Linked DNA regions of Homo sapiens: region 2 is linked to region 1. The links are contacts of gene promoters, found by promoter capture Hi-C in human tissues and cell types (Jung and others, 2019). All regions are on one chromosome and are shown on one strand. The core of a region is centred on a gene start or on the middle of the fragment in contact, and the rest is flanking DNA. Distances in the headings are between cores, read along the strand shown. Region 1 holds the start of ATP6V1G1 (ATPase H+ transporting V1 subunit G1). Region 2 has its middle 50 kb from the start of TNFSF8.

Evidence for each region. Contacts are between HindIII fragments. The study calls those that stand out against the background at their distance.
Region 2: a fragment that was not itself captured here is called in contact with the fragment with the promoter of ATP6V1G1 in region 1 in 1 of the 25 tissues and cell types used here (IMR-90 fibroblasts).

Annotation. Positions count from the first base shown.
Region 1 is chr9:114,586,256-114,589,260 of GRCh38, reverse strand. It overlaps ATP6V1G1 (ATPase H+ transporting V1 subunit G1), which reads right to left and starts at 1,492. Exons shown (of 3, transcript NM_004888.4): 1 at 1,341-1,492. The coding sequence starts at 1,422. RefSeq lists enhancers at 1,057-1,566, 1,677-1,756, 1,395-2,213, 2,214-3,005. The HindIII fragment of the contact is 8,309 bases long and covers 605-3,005 here.
Region 2 is chr9:114,979,579-114,982,583 of GRCh38, reverse strand. No RefSeq gene overlaps it. Among named protein-coding and RNA genes, the nearest start is that of TNFSF8, 50 kb to the right of the region's middle. The HindIII fragment of the contact is 4,565 bases long and covers 1-3,005 here.

The sequences.
Region 1 (3,005 bases), core at 243-2,742:
CAGAAGCTTAGTCTAGTGACTGAGCCATATAAACAAACAGGTTATTGCACGGCAGTGGCAGAAATCAGCACTTGGGAGGGACTCCAAGCCTAGTCCGGGGGACAAGCATGAGTCAGGAAAGGCTTCCCGGGAAGAAGTGTTTCCTAAATTGAGGTCTGATGGAAGACTAAGGGTCAGAGAACAAAGGGGAGGAGAATTGGAAAAGGCTTCTCACGTCAGAAGAAACAGCGTGTGCAAAAACCTGCAGGTGAAAGACATCATGCTGCTTCTGAGGGACCACAACGATTCAGTATAGCTGGAGGAAAGCACCAGGCCTGACCCACAAGAGCCTCCCCAACTTCATTAAGGAATTTGAGCTTTCTTCTGCAGGAACTAAACGTCTGACTACAAAGGCGGTAGGGAAATCATATCTGCACTTATTTATTTATTTTGTTCCTTACCAGCAGGAAGTCACATATTTGCATTTTAGAAGGATGACTGATTGCAGAGAGGAGAATGGATTGACTGGAGGGGACCAGAACGGGTTCTTCCACTCCCCAGTCTAGATTAAACTCACCTGTTAAATTCTTTAGCAACCTTACATTTCTCCACTCCAGCCCTCATCTCTCCTGCAATTAATTAACTGACCCAATACCTGCTTCCTTCACTGCGACACTGAATGCCACGTTAGGGGAGACAACTGATGCACTGGGCACTGCGCTTGCCACATATTAGACAGAAACACACACACACACACACACACACACACACTGCGCTTGCCACATGTTAGAAACACACACACACTGCGCTTGCCACATATCAGAAACACACACACGCACACACGCCAACGATTTAGACAACTACAGTACCTTTAGAGAAACTGGTGTCCTGGACTAAGACGCTGGTAGTAGACATGGGGGAAAAAGTGAAAGATACGCAAGCCTTGGCGACTGACTAAATGAGGGAGGGAGAAGAGGCAAGCAGGACTCCAGGTTTCTAGACCAAGCAACTGTGTGGATGCTGGCTCCCTTCACCGAGACTGACCACCCCAGAGCGGTTAAGTGGGAGAGAAGAAGAACAAAGAGCTCCGTTTGGAGAGCCCATTTCACATGCCTCCAGGCCCCAAGGACGGTAACCCATTATTGTTTCCACGCCCAATTTACCATCTCACATCGTGGCTTCCAGGCGATCCGCAAGCCTTCCAGAGCCTCAGCTCCTCAAAGCTTCGAAACACACAACCTTCCGCGACTATACGCACGCCCGCACCCCGCAGTTTTTCGGGCCTAATCTACCCACCACCTGAGGCCCAGCGGTCTTTCTTCGACTCGCGCCACGCCGGGCAGCCCCACCCTGAAACTCACTTTTGCGGGCCTCGGACACCTTCTCGGCTGCCCGCTTCTCGGCCTGCAGCAGCTGCTGAATCCCCTGAGACTGACTAGCCATGGCGGCAGCGATTCTGAGAGCAAGGCAAGCGGCCTAAGGCACCTCGAAGGCCCCTTGGGTCAGCTGACACAGCCGCCCACAATCTGCGCTTGCTCCTTGCGCCTGCGCTTCGCCCCCGTTGTCACGTGACCGCACAGCGTAGCATCAGCTGACCGCTCTTGAACTTCTGTGATTCGGCAGAAATGGGGCGGGGCGGGGCTGAGGAGAAAGGAGCGGAGCTCCTCGACTGCGCCTGTGCAGTCTACTGCGCAGTACTGCCCTCTACTCCTCTGTCCGCTCCCTGGCCTCTTTTAATGGCTACCCTGTCGCTGGTTCACTCTGTAGCCGCCCTGCCACGTATAGTGTCTGTTTGCAGTATGCTCAACGTCAAGAGAGGAGGGGCCAAGTCAAATCACTTTCCTCCTACTCTCCACACTGCTCTACTCACTCCCTTTCTGGGACTTTCTTTGGCACTCAAAATTTTATCGGGGTAGTTCAGGAAGATTCTTGCCAGTTCCGGGGATAGAGTCTTGGGTTGCCAGTTAGGAGACTCGGGATCAAGTCTGCCGCTAACCTGTGTGATTTTGGACAGGTCGCTATCCTTTTCTGAACCCGAGTTCAGGAATGGACTGGACTGTTTCCCATAAATATTTGATGAAAGCCTGCTGTGATCCTAGTCCACTGTTGATATTGAGGACATAGCAGAGAGCAGGGCAAACAAGGTCCCGGCGGAGCTCACAGTTTATGGACACAGACAGATTAATTAAAATAAATAGACAATTACAAACTGTGATAAAGTCATGAAGGAAAAATGCAGGGTGCCGTAAGAAGGAACCTTTAGTAAGGGGAGAGGAATATGGAGGTGTCTCTGAATGCTGTACCAAGGAAGTGGTGTTTAAGATCTGAAGGCCAGGCGCAGTGGCTCACGAGCCTGTAATCCCAGCACTTTGAGAGGCCGAGGCGGGTGGATCACTTCAGGTGAGGAGTTCGAGACCAGCCTGGCCGACGTGGTGAAACCCCGTCTTTACTAAAAATACAAAAATTAGCCGGGCGTGGTGGCGCGCGCCTGTAATCGCAGCTACTCAGTAGGCTGAGGCACGAGAATCGCTTGAACCCGGGAGGCGGAGGCTGCAGTGAGCCGAGATCGTGACGCTGCACTGCAGCCAGGGCGACAGAGCAAGACTGTCTCAAAAAAATTAAAATTAAAAAATTAAAATAGGCCAATCGCGGTGGCTCACGCCTATAATCCCAGCACTTTGGGAGGCTGAGGCCGGCGGATCACGAGATCAGGAATTTGAGACCAGCCTGACCAATGTGGTGAAACCTGGTCTCTACTAAAAATACAAAAATCCGGGCATGGTGGCGCGCGCCTGTAATCCCAGCTACTCAGGAGGCTGAGGTAGGAGAATCGCCTGAACCTGGGAGCTGAGGTTGCAGTGAGCCGAGATCGTGTCACTACACTCCAGCCTGGGTGACAGAGCAGACTCCATCTCAAAAATAAATAAGTAAATAAATAATAAAAATTCTCAAAAAATAAAATAAGATCTGAAGAATAAGAAGTTACCCAGGAAAGGATAGTGGGGGATGGAGGCGGTGGGAGATGA
Region 2 (3,005 bases), core at 304-2,803, 390 kb before region 1:
AAATCTAAATTAATTAACTAGTGGATTCCCTTTATAATAGAAAAATTTATGGTGTACACTGTGTTGCTATCATTCTAGCCAACACAGTCTACAAATTTACTGTCTTACAGGGTGGTCACTAGACATGTGGAGTTACTGAACACTGAAAATGCAGCTAGTTCAAGTTGAGATGTGCTGTAATGTACACTACAAAATAAACTTCAAGGACTCAGTATGAAAAAATAAATGTAAAATAACTTGTTAATAGTGTTTACATGATTAGATGAAATAAAATTAATTGTTAAAATTCATTTTAGCTGCTCCTTTTTCCTTTATTTACTGTGGCTACTAGAATTTTTTTTTTTAATTTCTGTGTGGCTTATATTATGTTTCTATTGGACAGCACTGGTCTAAACTACTTGCTAATTCTGTGATCAAGTCATCTCAACCATCATCCAGCAGAAAGGGCCCTAAAGATGGAGAGTAATTTGATATCTGATCATCAAAACTGTTGACAACACCTAGAATCTTAAACTGTTAGTTCTGGAAGGAACCTGTGGCAGAAACTTCTAATTGTTCTACAATACCCATTATCCTCTTCTCTCGGAATCACGGAACCCCAGTTTTTAGCTGGCAACGTATATCAGCTAAGAATATAGACTCTATTTCTGTATTTCCTAATCTACCTTGCAGATTGGGTGAGCCCATGTGACAAACTTAAGGCCAAGGGAATGTGAGCTGAAGTACTATGTGCAGCTTCCAGGTTACATATTTAATCATTAGATATTTTGCTTGGCTTTGTATGTTTTCCTGCTTTAGGAAAAATATAAAGGATCCTGGACCCTGGAGGATTTCTTGGAGTAGAGACACCTATAGCCTATCTTGAGACCTCTACATGAGGAAGAAGGACGTTTCCATCTTCCTTTAATACAACTAATTTAGTCTTAATTAATACAGATCCTGGAGGTCGTTTTTGTTCAACACTCCAACATTACAGGATAATTATATATCAGAGAGGACTACAATTACCTAAATTCACACAGCAACTTAGCATGAGCTGGGTCTTGAACCTAAAGCTTCTTATTATTTATCCTTCCCTACCATGCATTGCACTCAGCTATCTTATCCAATTTACAGTCTATAAAAATACATTCCAGAAGATGTGATGCATAAATGAACTATTATCCTTTGGATCTTAGAGATAAGAATTTCAGTTTGCTCATATATTTTTGTTTTGAACTGCATCCTTAAAACAATGATTTGTGTAAACTACCCATGATGCAATATTAGCTTACTTAAGCGAGAGACACACAGTCATAAAATAAACTTATTCATGACATCTCGCTGGAGGCACTAAAACAATAAAATGTAATCCTGATGTCACTTGCTACCTCCCTGCCCTTTAAAATCCAGATAAGGCTGGCTCAAACGATCAACTCCATGCTTCATGGAAGACCAAAGCCTGCAGATTTCTGGGAAAGAAAAAGGGGAGACGGGAGCATGGGGGATTTGTATTCTGATGTCTCCAAATCTAGGTTTCTGATTCTGCAAATGCTGTTTTGTCCACATGGCTACAATCCAGACGAGAAACCCCGCCTTTCTTCAATTTCTACACACCCATACACTCATCTTGCACAAAGAGCTAATAAGTATAGTGCACTTACTTGAAGATTTATTTAGTAGCTAGAAAAAGGATTATTATATCACAACAACTTCAAATTGGACATTAGGCATCCCCCTTGTGAAGCCCTCCTTTGGCCACTGTCTTAGTTTGGGCTGCCATAGCAAATTACTATAGACTGGATGGCATAAACAGCAAACACTCATTTTCTTACAGTTATGGAAGCTAGGAAGTCCAAAATCAAGGTACCAGCAAAGCTGGTATCTGATGAGGACACTCTTCCTGGTTTGCAGACAGCTACTTTCTCATTGTATCTTCACATGCAGAGACAGACAGAGATCTTGTGTTCCCTCCTTATTTTATAAGGGCACTCATCCCATCATAAGGGCCCCATCTTCATGACCTCATCTAACCTTCTCTACCCCTCAAAGGTCCCGCCACCAAATACCATCACATTGGGAATTAGTATTTCAATATGTGAATTTGAGGTGGACACAAATATTCAATCCATAACAACCACCTTATCATAAGGCAATTCCATAAGATGCTCTTCCCAGGGTCACTACTAGGCCATAGGGACACCTCCTTCAAGTGCAGACCCAGAAAATACGACTTAGGGATCAGGACACTGGTTTAATTGCAAACCCAGCCAGCTGCCTCAGCCAACCAGTTGAGCAAAGGCAACTTGCACAACAATGCATATTGTTGTAAAGCTCTACCTCTGTTTACCCTGTGGAGTCCTCAGCCATAGACCATCTTTCTAGTCCCTCCTTCTCTCATCCCCTTGTAAACCACTGACCTCTCCTATTCCCCATATATCTCTTAACTCCTCTTATATTCTCAGGTTGGACAGCTTAGCTATAGCTTTCCTTTTGCTTGAACTCCTGACAACCCCTTTGGGGTCTTACCTGCTACTCAGAGAGGCTTCACATATGATCTTTCAAATAAGAAGGACTCCTTCTACTACATCCTAATGTCAGTAGATGTTAGTGCCCCCTCCCCAAATTCATATGTTGAACCCAAATCTGCAGTGTGATAGTATTTGCATGTAGGGCCTTTAGAAGGTGATTATTAGATCGTTAGGGTAGAACCCTCATGCATGAGAGTAGTGTCCTTATAAAAGAGACCCCAGTGAACTCCCTTGCTACATCCACCATGTGAGGATGCAGTGAGAAGACAGCAGTCCATGAATGAGGAAGCAGGCCCTCACCAGACACCAAATCTTCCAGCAACTTGATCCTGGGCTTCTTAGCCTCCAAAACTGTGAGAAATCACTGTTCGTTGTTTATGAGCTACCAGTCTGTGATATTCTGTGACAACAGCCCAAGCAGACTTAGATACACTTCACAGATGAATTCTGGTATAAGCTGTCAAGATATTAAAAAGTTCTCTAACTTAGAAAGCA